Linked DNA regions of Homo sapiens: region 1 is linked to region 2. Evidence: promoter capture Hi-C in human tissues and cell types (Jung and others, 2019). All regions are on one chromosome and are shown on one strand. The core of a region is centred on a gene start or on the middle of the fragment in contact, and the rest is flanking DNA. Distances in the headings are between cores, read along the strand shown. Region 1 holds the start of CLIP2 (CAP-Gly domain containing linker protein 2). Region 2 holds the start of ELN (elastin).

Evidence for each region. Contacts are between HindIII fragments. The study calls those that stand out against the background at their distance.
Region 1: a contact is called between the fragment with the promoter of CLIP2 here and the fragment with the promoter of ELN in region 2, in 1 of the 25 tissues and cell types used here (aorta).

What each region holds. Positions count from the first base shown.
Region 1 is chr7:74,285,988-74,292,206 of GRCh38, reverse strand. It overlaps CLIP2 (CAP-Gly domain containing linker protein 2), which reads right to left and starts at 2,800. Exons shown (of 17, transcript NM_003388.5): 1 at 2,473-2,800. It overlaps LOC107986742 (a long non-coding RNA gene), which reads left to right and starts at 2,900. Exons shown (of 2, transcript XR_001745024.2): 1 at 2,900-3,145. RefSeq lists enhancers at 1,158-1,801, 1,802-2,446 and silencers at 2,322-2,391, 2,412-2,881. The HindIII fragment of the contact is 6,317 bases long and covers 1-5,673 here.
Region 2 is chr7:74,023,035-74,029,617 of GRCh38, reverse strand. It overlaps ELN (elastin), which reads right to left and starts at 1,445. Exons shown (of 33, transcript NM_000501.4): 1 at 1,349-1,445. The coding sequence starts at 1,430. RefSeq lists enhancers at 118-1,089, 2,062-3,034. The HindIII fragment of the contact is 22,090 bases long and covers 1-6,583 here.

The sequences.
Region 1 (6,219 bases), core at 1,551-4,050, 260 kb before region 2:
CTCACGCCTGTAATACCAGCACTTTGGGAGCCTGAGGCAGGTGGATCACCTGAGGTCAGGAGTTCAAAACCAGCCTGGCCAACATGGTGAAACCCCGTCTCTACTAAAAATACTAAAATTAGCCGGACATGGTGGCACATGCCTGTAATCCCAACTACTTGGGAGGCTGAGGCAGAATTGCTTGAACCCAGGAGGCAGAGGTTACAGTGAGCCAAGATCGCGCCATTGCACTCAAGTCTGGGCAACAAGAGTGAAACTCCATTTCAAAAAAAAAAAAAAAAAAGAGGGCAGGATCAACTGTCAGGGTGGCAGGGCCAGGAGGGGAGGCCAAGAGGGAACTGGGGGACCACACGTGGGCAGGCCTGCCAGGTGGGGAGCAGGGACAACTGGGGCTGTGGGGAGATGGCCTTTCTATCACCAAGGGAGGCAGGACCAGGGAGGAGGCTGCAGTGAGGCAGAGAACAGCAGGTGCCGGGTCAGGGCTAACCAGCAAGGGTGCTGAAGAAGGACAAACAGCCTGGAAGGGGCACGAGCCTCCTCTCCCTGAAACGTGTGTGAGTGGGGCCAGGAAGCCACTCTGTACGGCAGCAACAACACTTATAGGACATCTACTCTGTCACAGGGCACACAGTTCTCCTAACAACCCTAAAAGCCAGATACCATAAGGATCCCAATTTTACAGATGAGGATGTCGAGGCAGAGAGAGATGCAATGTGCAAGGTCACATAGCTAGGGAGTGGCAGAGCTGGGATTTGAACCCGGGCTGTTAAGCTCCAGCATCTGAACTCTTCACCGCCAAGGTAGACAGCAGATGCCGGAAAGCGATTACTGCTCCTTGGAGTAAATTCCCCCTGCTGGGACTTTGGGCTCTGAGTGCAGAATTCCAGGCACCACCTTCCCAGCCTGCACGGTGCTGAGGGCTGGAGTTTGCAGGTGCACACAGGTGTGTGTGGAGGAGGCTCCTCCCAGGCGCCTCCACCTGCCTCTTCTGCCTTTGGAGCCCCTCTCCATCTCCACCGCCTCCACCTGTCCTGAAGCCAGAATCCCATCATTCCCCCGCAAGGCACTGCAGACAAGAATGCATCCTGTGCTCAACGCAGGTCTAAGTTCCTTAAATCCTAAGCTGTTTCTCTAACCCAATAGCCTCCTTTTCTGACTCCAAGCCCTTATTCACGCTATTTCTCCTGCACGAAACCCCCTTCAGGCAACCTGGCAGCAAACTTCTGCAAGATGCTCTATGAAGCTTCCTGGTCTGCCCCATCCTCCAGGGGACCCCCTCTATGCCCCCAGCTTCCCCACTAATGCACTCATCAACCCCCGGGGCTGCACTTTTTGGGGACACCGAGGCTGCTGTCCTGTGGACCAGCCAGCCCCTAGAAGTGCCAGGCCAGGTAACAGCAGCTGAATGAAGGGCTTATTGTTTACATTTACAACCGAAAGGGAAGAGGCTTCTGAAGCACACACGTGGTGCTCCCCGCACCCTCCTCCTCCTCTGCCCACAGCCCTAGGCCACCCCACCCACCTCCCTCAGGCATCGCGCAAGAGTGACGGCAGACCCCCTCATCCCAGACCCCCACTTCTCACCCAGAAGTGAGAGGAGGGGTCTCAGACGTTGGGGGACACACTGCTGGGTGGGTGATTTCCCCCCAAGGTGCTCCCTCTGCCCGTCCTTCCCAGGGTGGGGCTGGGGCCTGCGTGGCAGTGCCCAGTGGGCACCCGCTCGGCCCAAGCTCTGCCTGAAAGGTCCAAACGGGCGGGCCCTGAAGGTTCAGCCAAGCATCCTCCGCGGCCGCCGCCCCTCCCCGGGAGGAGGGCAGAAAATCTGCTGCCTCACCAGCCACCAGCGCCAGCTTGGGGGGACACCCCCTGAGAGAAGCCGCCCGCCTCAATCTCCTCCTACCCCACCTCAGCCAAGCACTTCAACCAAGTTTTGCAAAGGCCATCGGCCAGGCGACCCCAGAGGGTGTAGCAGGGAGGAGAGGGGGGCAGTCCCTGTTCTCCCAGACCCCAGGTTTGGAGATGGGGGCTGCATGGCCGCGCCCACCAGGCTGTGCTCCCCAGGCTCTGTGAGCCCAGAGAGCCCTGCGGCGCGTCCAGCCGTCTTGCTCTGCCCTTGGAAGGGGGTACGGGCGACCCTCCAACAGAAGGGCCAAACCCCCGTCCGAGGGTAGGGACCCCGATGAGGCTGGTGATGCCTTCAACAGGGGGACCCGCAGCCCGGGAATAGCCCCCAACCCTGGCACCCCAAGCAGTGCCCCCTCCTCTCCTACAAGCAACGGGGAAGTTGGGGCACACCCCAGCCAGCTCCCGCCCACGCCCACCGGCCGGCCTCGAACCCTCCCGCCCCCGCCCACGCCCCGACAATGCCTCCGGGCCCGCAGCCCCGCTTTCGGCCAGGCCGCCGCCCCCCGCATCTCTCCGTCCTTTGTTGCCCGCGCGACCCCCTCCCTCGGCCCCTCCAGCAGCCCCTACCTTCGTCCTTCCAGCATCAGGCTAAGCGGCGGGAGGCCCGGAGAGCCCCGGCCTCCTCCTCTCGGGCCCGGGCGCGCTGGGGGGCGAGGATGCTGCGGCCCCTCCCTGCGCGGCGCTGCCCACCGGCTGCACCCCCTCCTGGCGCCGGGGATCCCCGCGATAGGTGCTCAGGGCCCGGGCCTCGCGCCACGTCTCTGGGAAGGCGGGAGGCGCGCACCGAGGCCGCCCAGCAGCCGCCTGCGCGCCCCGCGGCCGAGCCGAGCTGAGCGCCCGCGGAGCCAGCGGAGCCAGCGGAGCCAGCGGCCCGGCTCCGGGAGGGAACAAAAGGGGCCGGCGCAGGGGCGGGCGCGGGAGGGCGGGGCCTGGGGCGGGCGGGAGGGGGGGGCGGGTCAGGCGCGCGTGGGCGGCCTCGCGGTTTTCAGGCCTCAGTGCCTCGCGGAAAGCAGGCGGGCGGGCGGAAAACGCGGAGCAACCTCTTCCCCCTCTCCCCGCTCCATCTCCTTCCCTTCCCAGGCCGCAGCTGTCCTTTGTGGGGCGTCCAGGGTTCGCCCACATCCACCTCCGCGCTGGGCACCTGGTGGTGCTTACATCGCGTTTGGTGAAACGCATCCTCCAGCCATGCTATGCTTGCAAAGATGTCTCTGGTCATTGGGAAGGACGGCAGCTTGGGAAGGTGAGATGCTGTTGGCGCTGGACAGAAAGGATGAGGAGGGGGACAGTGCAGCTGGGGCGAAAACTTCAGGTCTGTGTTGGGGCCAGCGTGGGTGGGGAACTGTGGCACAGGGTCTCATGGTTATCAAGGATCTCATAGCCTGGGCAGTGTCTCACGCCTGTAATCCCAGCACTTCAGGAAGCCAAGGCGTGCAGATCGCCTGAGGCCAAGAGTCCGAGAACAACCTGGGCAACGTAACCTTCGTCTCTACAAAAAATACAAAAATTAGCTGGGCGCGCGCCTGCGGTCCCAGCTACTGGGGAGGCTGGGGTGGGAGGATCGCTGGAGCCCAGGAGGTCGAGGCTGCAGTGAGTCATGATCAAGCCACGGCCCTTCAGCCTGGGTGACAGAGCGAGACTCCGTCCCAAAAGAAAAAAAAAAAAGGATCTCATGGTGATCAGCTTCCAAGATACAAATGAACCCTCCCCAGGACAGGATGCATGTACTGCTATTTCAGAGGAGTTGAGGCAGCTGCCAGGTCCCCTCCTGCGTGGAGAGGCAGATGCCAAGTGACAGCTCAGGAACTAAACAGTGACCAAGCCCCAGCCCCTGTCCATGCCCAGGCTGCGGTTGGCTTCTGTGGCTTGGTTTCCCTCTGTCCCCCCTTGATAAGCTCGCCTGGATGCCTTTGACCTAGCTGGCCGTTCTACCAGTCCTGCCCTGCCCCCTTTCTCTGTTTGACAAATCATATTCCCCCTTCAAAGCACAGCTTAAATGTCCCTGCTTTTCCCTTGAGTGCAGGAATGTGGGTGTTGGGGGAGGTTGTGGTCTGTATGGTGAGACCACTGTTCTGCGGGAGAGAAGTGCCACATACGATCTTGTTCCTATCCCCTAAGGGACCCAGTGCAATGCTTGGCAGAGGGTAGACATCCAGTAATATTTGTTGAATGAATGAATGAACTTACTAAGTTAACATTACCACCCCTCAACTGTCTTGGTATCCATAATCTTTGAGAAGTGAGTGAACCTTTTTTTAGAGAAGGGGTCTCACTCTGTCACCCAGGCTGGAGTGCAGTGGTGTGATTACAGCTCACTGCAGCCTCAAACTCCCAGGCTCAAATGATCCTCCTGCCTCAGCCTCCAGAGTAGCTGGGACTACGGGCATGCACCATGCCCGGCTAATTTTTTGTGTTTTTTATAGAGATGGGGTCTCATTATGTTGGGGTCCAGGCTGGTCTTAAACTCTTGGCTTCAGATGATCTTCCCACCTCAGCCTCCCAAAGTGCTGGGATTACAGCTGTGAGCCACCGTGCCTGGCCTAAACATTTTGACCTCAGTTTCCCCATCTGTAAATTGGGGAGAGTGTTTCAATTCAGTTCAGCGAACATGCAATGCTGTAATGATGGAGGCTGGGCATGGGGTCAGCCCTGAGGGGGTGCCCAGTTGGTGTGGAGAGCCAGACTTGGAGACTAATAAGGGAGGAGGTTCAGAGTGAACTCCAGAAAGACTGGGCTTCTGTAGGAGGTGTGAACCCATAGGGAGGGAGGGGACTCAGGGTGGAGAGGGCAGTGTTCAGGAAACAGGGAGCTAATTGTTCCTTGTGGCTGGGATGCATAACCTGTATATCAACAGTTATAAACCAGCCAGGCACAGTGGCTCACACCTGTAATCCCAGCACTTTAGGAGGTGGTGGCGGGCAGATAACCTGAGGTCAGGAGTGCGAGACCAGCCTGGCCAACGTGATGAAACCCCATCTCTACAGAAGATGCAAAAAATAGCTGGGTGTGGTGGTACATGCCTGTAATCCCAGCTACTCGGGAGGGTGAAGCTTGAGAATGGCTTGAACCCAGAAGGCGAAGGTTGCAGTGAGTGGAGATCATACCACTACACTCCAGCCTGGGCAACAGAAGGGATGGGATGGGATGGGACGGGACGGGACGGGATGGGGCAGGGATTTGCCAAGGTGACATGGGTCTTGCTGGGATGTACCTGAGCTCACCAGCCCCTGCCCAGCAGATCTAGCCTCCCACATGTGCCTCAGGAGGTAGGCAGGGGCCCCCAACCTTCACAGGTACTGCCTCCCTCACTGATGGCCCCCAGTATTATTCAGAGCAACAGCCTGCGGTCAACAGACCTTACCTGGCCGCTGGTGAGTGGAGCTTCAAAGAGCAAGTCACCTGAGAGGGACACCTTTTGTTCTTGCTCCAGATGAGAGAAGACAGGCTTCTGTCTTGTTACAGTTTGCATTTGGGGGGCCGGGCACAGTGGCTCACACCTGTAATCCCAGCACTTTGGGAGGCCAAGGCGGGCGGATCACAAGGTCAGGAGTTCGAGACCAGCCTGGCCAACATGGTGAAACTCCGTCTCTACTTAAAATACAAAAAATTAGCCGGGCATGGTGGCACACACCTGTAATCCCAACTACTTGGGAGGCTGAGGCAGGAGAATCACTTGAACCCGGGAGGCGGAGGTTGCAGTGAGCTGAGATCGCACCATTGCACTCCAGCCTGGGCAACAAGAGCAAGACTTTGTCTCAAAAAAAAAAAAAAAAAAAAGTTTGCGTTCGAGTTTTTCTGCTTCTTTCAGTAGATGAACCTGATGCTGTCTGATGTGAGGGTTGGGGTCCTGGCCTTGGCCCCTGCCCTGGCATCAGGCCTCCGTGATGGGTGGGGAGGCAGGCGGGGGGATCTGGAGGGGGTGTTCTCCCAGCCGACCTCTCACCCAGGCCTTTTGTCTCCACTGAAACTGCTGATTTGGTCATTTTCTTGCTGACGCCGGCTGTGACCAGCAGCCTCACGGGAGGATTTTTCATGGGAAGAGAGAGTTGGGAATAATTTTCGAGCCAGAGCTGAATTCTCTGAGGCCTGCAATGGGCCAGCCACGGGAGAGGCCTGGGCTGCTTTGCAGGTGGCGATCTCTCTGGTATACTATTTATTTATTTATTTATTTGTTTATTTATTATTTTACTTTTTCAGGGGTAGAGACAGAGGCTTTCTATGTTGCCCAGGCTGGTCTCGAAATCCTGGCCTCAAGTGATCCTCCCACCTCGGCCTCCCAAAGCGCTGGGATTACAGGCTCTGGGCACCACGCCTGGC
Region 2 (6,583 bases), core at 196-2,695:
CTGCACAGGAAGCTGTTCAATCTCACGGAAACAGCTGCAGCTCCTGCCCAGGCCCTTGACTCCACCCCGTGGCCCTCCCGCCCCCCACTCAGCGTTTGGTTCTCATGGCAAGGAGGACTCCCGAGGAAACCAGACTCCACCCAGACCCCCCTACCAAATGCCCTCCTTTTTCCCATGCCCGGGAGCCTCTTCTGTCCTCCCCCGTTGGCCGCGGCATAGCAGCCCCACAGGGCACACCCTCAAACCCCATAACCAACTGTGCCTGGGTTGGGGCACATAGCAGATGGCCCAGCAGTGCCCCAGGATCCACTCCAGCCTCTGTCTCAGCCACACTGCCTCTGCCAGGAGACAGACACCTTCTCCAGCCCGCCTTTCCATGCTTGCGTGCCACATCGCACACACATTCACACACACAGATGTACACACTCCATAACACACACAGTGACAGTCCACACCAGTGTCACACCTGGATGCCAGATCGCCCATGTCTACATGTGTACATGTCTACATGTCTGTCAGGTGGCAGACTTTTGCACACACTAAGGAGCAGCTTCATATACCTCCTCCAAACATACGCATACACCTGCCTAAGGATGAACCTGTGAGCAGACATATGTACCCCTCCAGAAATCCCTTTCCCTGTTCAGTGACACAGCCGGGCATCTGAACACATGCACACCTGTGCATGCACACATACACACACGAGCACACAGCACGCTCATTCCTGTGTGCATGCACACACACACACACACACAAATGCATACCAGGAGTCCCTGCCTGCCTCAGCAGGGAGAACACAGCAGCAGCTTCCCAACCTGCAAACCCATCCTCAGCGGAGCCCTGACCTTCCTGACGGGGGGATCCCGGCTTCCCAGGGGTCAAGGAACCTGCTGAGGTCACACAGCTCACTGCGGTTGAGCTGGTATCAAGCCCAGGTTCCCTGTCCCCAGGGCTGGTGTGCACCCCAGCTGTGTCCACAGGTGTGCAGACTGTGGTGTCTCCAGACCCAGGGGTTCCCGCTGGGCCCTCCCCCAGGATGCTCTGATCCCCCTACAGGGCGGGCACCCGGGCACCTGAGCAGGGGCCCCCTCAGCCCTCGCAGGGCAGCAAAGCCTGGATGCTGGGCTGGGACTATTCTGAGTCGAGGGTGTCTCTTTGACAGGTTCCTCCTGGGCACGGGGCTGGCTCCTGGGAGGGGCAGTTCCGAGGACCCAGTGGCTGAGGGGCTCCCACCTGGGACCCCTTGCAGTTCCCAGGGACGAAGGTCTCCCCCTTGAGCGTCTAGTCACCTGGCCCAAAGGGCCCGCAGCTGTGGGCAGCGCTGGGGACAGGGGCGAGGGGTCCTTACCTCCAGGCCGAGAGGGGTGGAGGATGGACAGCAGGAGCAGGAGGACTCCGGGCCGCGGGGCCGCCGCCGTCAGACCCGCCATCTCGGGGAGAAATGCCCCAGCCCGCTCTCCGCACCTCGTTTTATCCCCAAAGCCTAATTGTTGCCTCGTCGGCTGTGAGGGAAAGAGGGAGGGAGAGAGGGCGGGCGGGAGGGCGGGAGAGGGGGGAGGCCTGGGGGAGGGGGCCGCGGGGAGGGGACAATTACGAAAGGCCCGGCTCACAAGCCTCCCAGGCCCGGGCTGCTGGACTGCGAGCTTTTTTCCTTGACACACACACGCACACACATGCACACAAGCACACACTCACACACACACACTTTCCCCCATCTCTTTCCCGCTTTCCCTCTGCGACTGTTCTTTCGCTGCTGGCCCTGTTCCCGCCAGAAAGAGCGAGGGGGGCCTCTGCCAGGACAGCCCTCGGGAGAGGAAGCAGAAGGGAGGGCCTGGCGGCCAGGCCAAAAATCCCAGCCCCAGCCAAGGCCCGAGTGGCCAGGCCCCCGCCCCTCCGGCTGGGCCCCGGGCCCAGTGTGAGGATACGGGCCAGCTGTCCCGCGCCTCAGCCCCCACCCCGGCCCTCCAGACTCCCCAACACCCCCAGGTCTGGCTAGAGACAGGTTCTGCCCAAAGCTGGGGAGGGGAGGCATTGGGCAGGTCTGGGGGTTTGGGGGGTGCGATGTCTACAGAGGCCGGGGGGCTGCAGGTTGAATGGCCTGGAAGGTAGGCCCGGGTTGGTATTGCTCTGGGAGGGATCTGGGGGGAAGGTAGGGGACCCTGGACAGGGCTGCATTCTGCAGGGGCCAAGGTCTCTGCCTAGCGCCTGAAGCTGGGGAGGAGGTGTTGGGTGGGTCTGGGGTGGATGCCTGCAGATGCCAGGGGGTTAGAGGCAGGGGAATGGCTTGGGAGTTAAGGCCATGTTGGTGCTGTCCCCAGGGGCATCTGGAGCACATGGAGGATCCCGACACACAGGGTTCTATTCTGCATGGGTCAAGGTCACAGCCCTATACCCAGCCCCATGCAGGCCGCAGGGTCTGGTAAAAATCAGGCTGGATCCCCAGGTGCCCTGTGGGGGAACAGGGAGGTGGGAGCCCCCCGCAGACTGACAGGCAGCCCAGCTTCCCATTATCACTGGGTCACCTCCCATCCCCACGCTGAGCACAGCTAGCGCCCACACCAGTCTGGGAGCTTCTCGACTGCTGTTCTCCCGGCCCCTCTGGGAAGGCTGACATTCCGCTGGTGGCCAGGAGGGGGCGGCCTGCACTGAAACAGCTGGGACCACGTTCCTGGAGAACTCTGCATTTCTGCCCCCAGGACTGAGCTGGACGGGGACCCTGGGGGATTTTGGGGGTTGGAGTGTGGGATGGAACAGGGGAGGGTCGTGTCCCCCACCCCTCACTTCCCACTACTGCTAGAGGAGAAGAAATGTGAGACCTAGAGAATAGGAGAGGGAAACTTGTTCCTTGTCCTAGGTCACAGCCAGTCAGGGAACAGCATGGAAGCCACACGCCCTGTGGGCTTTTCCCTGCACCACGATGGCTCCGAGGGATGAGTTAAAGACCCCTTGTGGAGGCAGGAGCACTGTGGCAGTCTGGAGTGCCAGCAGGGGTGGCTCAGCGTGGAAAGGTCAAATGCAGGCATTGGTCAAAGGCAGGTATTGGTGGACCTAGAAGTAAATTTCTGGCTCTAGCCTTTCTGGTAGGAAAACCTCTCCACAGAGCATCAGTTTCCTTATCTGTCTACAGGTGATCAGTATTCCTAGCTAAGAGATTATTGCAAAGACAAATACAACGTGGTCTTGTATTTCTGCTAGATCAAAAATGCTCTGTGTTCAGCTGGTGCTAGGACTGGTGTCAATACCACAGTTGCCGTCACTCGCTCTGCAAGTACTCTGCTTCTAGGACAGCTATCAGGCTTTGGTCTATACGGGGCCACCCCAGGACCCTGGACAAACCCTTCCTTTTCCCTGGGTCTTTGGAGGGAGCAGCTCTGGAATTTTGGAAGGTAGGGGCATGCTGGGAGAATTGTCTTGAAGATGTACGCACACAGCCAGTGTACAGCTCTTACTTACGGTGTGTGTTTATTTGGGGGTGCTTTGAGGGTAGCTGATGGAGATTATGCTGGGGTGAAAGCCCCCCCAAGCCACCCTTTGTTGGTGGGGTTAGGGGCTGCTCAGGGGCAGGGTCTGAAGCTCGATGCCCAGGATGTGCCTGCTGCAGGGGAGGGGAAGTCAATGGTATATCTGCGTGCCTCCGCCTGCCTGGGAAGGAGGAAGGCAGGGGCTACTGTGGGGAGCTGGACCCCTCTCTTCTCGAGGCAGTGACACGGGCAGGAACCAGCTTTCAGACTTGCAAACCGCAGTCTGCACAGAGTCTTTATTAATTCCAGGACGGGGAGAGAGTCCGGAGCCAGGGGGAGAGAGTTTGCAGTGGGGGGATCCAGGAGGGGTGTGGAGGGGCACTCACAGGAATAGACTTGAGGTGGCTGGAACAGACCTCTCCCCTGAGGCCGGGGGCCCTGTGTCCTGCCCCCAGCCTGTGCGCTGCTTCTGCTTAGCAGCCTCTGCTCATTGCAGGAGCTCCACGAACATAACATGCAACAAGATTGCAAAAGGGGGCCTCAATTCACAATCAAATCCATTGCACTGAATATCCATGCCGTGTAGTCTGATGCATAAGATACATAATGTAAGAACTAGAGATGACAGTCATCGGCCACCATCCATTCATTCATTCATTTACTTGTTCATTCAAGACCCCATCAGTACTCAAATGCTTAGTGTCACCTCCTTGCCTAGCTGTATGACTAAATAAGGTCATACATGCAGAATTGCCCACAGAGGGCTACCGGGTGCACCTGGCTGCCTGGTGATCGTTGGTCTTGCCGTTATCATTGACAAGCCTTTCCCGCTTGTTGCCTGGCTCAGTGCCACCAAGGGGCAACCAGATGAGTCACCCACAGGGCATCTCTATCTTCCAGCTCCTCTGGGTGCACCCATTTTGGTAGGACAGAGTTCCCAGTCTCTGGATGGCTCTGAGAACATCGTGCTTTGCTCAGACACCCTCCGTCGCTATCCAGACAAAGTTCAGATTTTTTTTTTGAGACGGAGTCTCGTTCTGTCACCCAGGCTGGAGTGCAGTGGCGTGATCTCCGCTCACTAAAATTTCTGCCTCCCAGGTTCAAGCAATTCTCCTGCCTCAGCCCCCGAGTAGCTGGGATTACAGGCATCCGCCACCACTGCCAGCTAATTTTTGTATTTTTAGTAAAGACCGGATTTCACCATGTTGGCCAGGCTGGTCTCAAACTCCTGAGCTCAGGTGATCCGCCCGCCTCGGCCTCCCAAAATGCTGGGATTACAGGTGTGAGCTACCGCATCCAGCCCCTCCTATGATCTTAAATTTACTAGTAGCCATATGAAATAAAAGAAAACATAAGTAAAACTATTCTTAGTAATATATTTAACACAACATATCTAAAGTATAATCCTTTCAACATCCAATCAAAATAAAAGTTATTGAGATATCTTGCATTCTTTTTTGTACCAGGTCTTAAAACTGGTGTGTATTTTGCATCGAGGGTACGTCTCAATCTGGACTTGTCACATTTCAAGTGCTCCATTAGCCACATGTGGCCAGCAGCTGCCACCGGGGACAGCACTGGTTTAGATCATAAAGGACTGGTGAGATGAGCTAGCCTTAGTTCTTTTTTGGTGGTTTGTTTTCTTTTTTGAGAGGGAGTCTTTCTCTGTCACCCAGGCTGGAGTGCAGTGGCACGATCTTGGCTCACTGCAACCTCCGCCTCCCGGGTTCAAGCAATTCTCCTGCCTCAGCCTCCTGAGTAGCTGGGATTACAGGCACGCGCCACCACGCCTGGCTAATTTTTGTATTTTTAGTAGAGACGGGGTTTCTCCGTTTTGGCCAGGCTGATCTTGAACTCCTGACCTCAGGTGATCCTCCCGCCTCGACTTCCCTAAGTGCTGGGATTACAGGCGTGAACCACCATGCCCAGCCAGAGCTAGCCTTAGTTCTGATGCGCTTGGAAGGGAATCTGAATCCTGCTATGCAGAGGTTCAAAATGGGACGGGGCTTGAGGACAGGGGAGAGGGACAGAGAAGGAAGGATGTCCTTGGAGGCTGGCAAAGGGCACCCGTGACAAGCAGCCCCAAAGGAGTGGCCCTGCCCTCGTGCTGGTGACTGAGCCAGAGAGGGCGGCTACCTCCTGTGGGGTGCCCGGCAGCATCGGCCCAGAGCCAGCACCTCAGCTGGAAAATGAAAGGGACTTCTGCAGTTCCTCTCTTCCCAGAGGCCACCAGGGACCCCTCGGATGGCCGGCCAGGAAAGGAAGGGGTCTGGCGCAGGCACAGGTGTCAGAGGTAAAGGGACTGCAACCGAAAATAGATCGAATGCCCATGGGTCTGGGCCATTTGCTGGGTGTCCCTTCATCACACAGAGCCAGCTCAAAAGAAGGACAGGCTGTGCTTCGAGGGGGTGCGTTGGACGTTGTGGGAGGGAGGCTGAAATTCTGGAACTCGGTGCTTCTGCAACCCCCCAGGCTGGGAGTGGGTTCGGAAGGGTCAGCAGTCGTTGTTGTGGTTGTGATGGGGACTGATGTTGATTAGTGTATGAGTTTGGCCAGATTATCTAATAATAATGAAGGATGGTGACATCAACAGTAATTGACCCCTAGAATCCCTGGTTTCGTCCTATGAAGACAGGATCTTCATAACCATTTAAGAGTACAAACATATCTGTAAGAATTTGGTATACAGCAAGTGCTCAAACATGGGAGGGGGTCCATGACACCATTTCAGGCCACTGATCATGGCTGGGTGGAGGGGTAGGCATAGCAGAAAGCCCCATCCCTGTGAGTGCTGCCCCCTGCAACCTCCGGGCCATGCCGTGTTTCCTCTTAGCCCCGGGCGTTTGTGTGTCTGAGTCATTTGTCAGTCTGGATCTTTGGCCAGTGTGAGCCGGGGGTGGGGAGGTGGGTGTCCCGGACGGGCTGTTCTGCCCTGTGCTGTTCCTACAGTGCCTCACGGGCTGTCTGTTGCCATCTAGAGGGGAACATCGTGAGCCGGCCCTCCTCTGTGCACCCCCTTCCCATGGGACCCGGGATGGAGGAGTCCAGAGCACGCCTCTTGTTTGTTTGACACTTGACCGTTTGCAAAGCACACTTCCATTTTCCAATGGGGATATTATTAT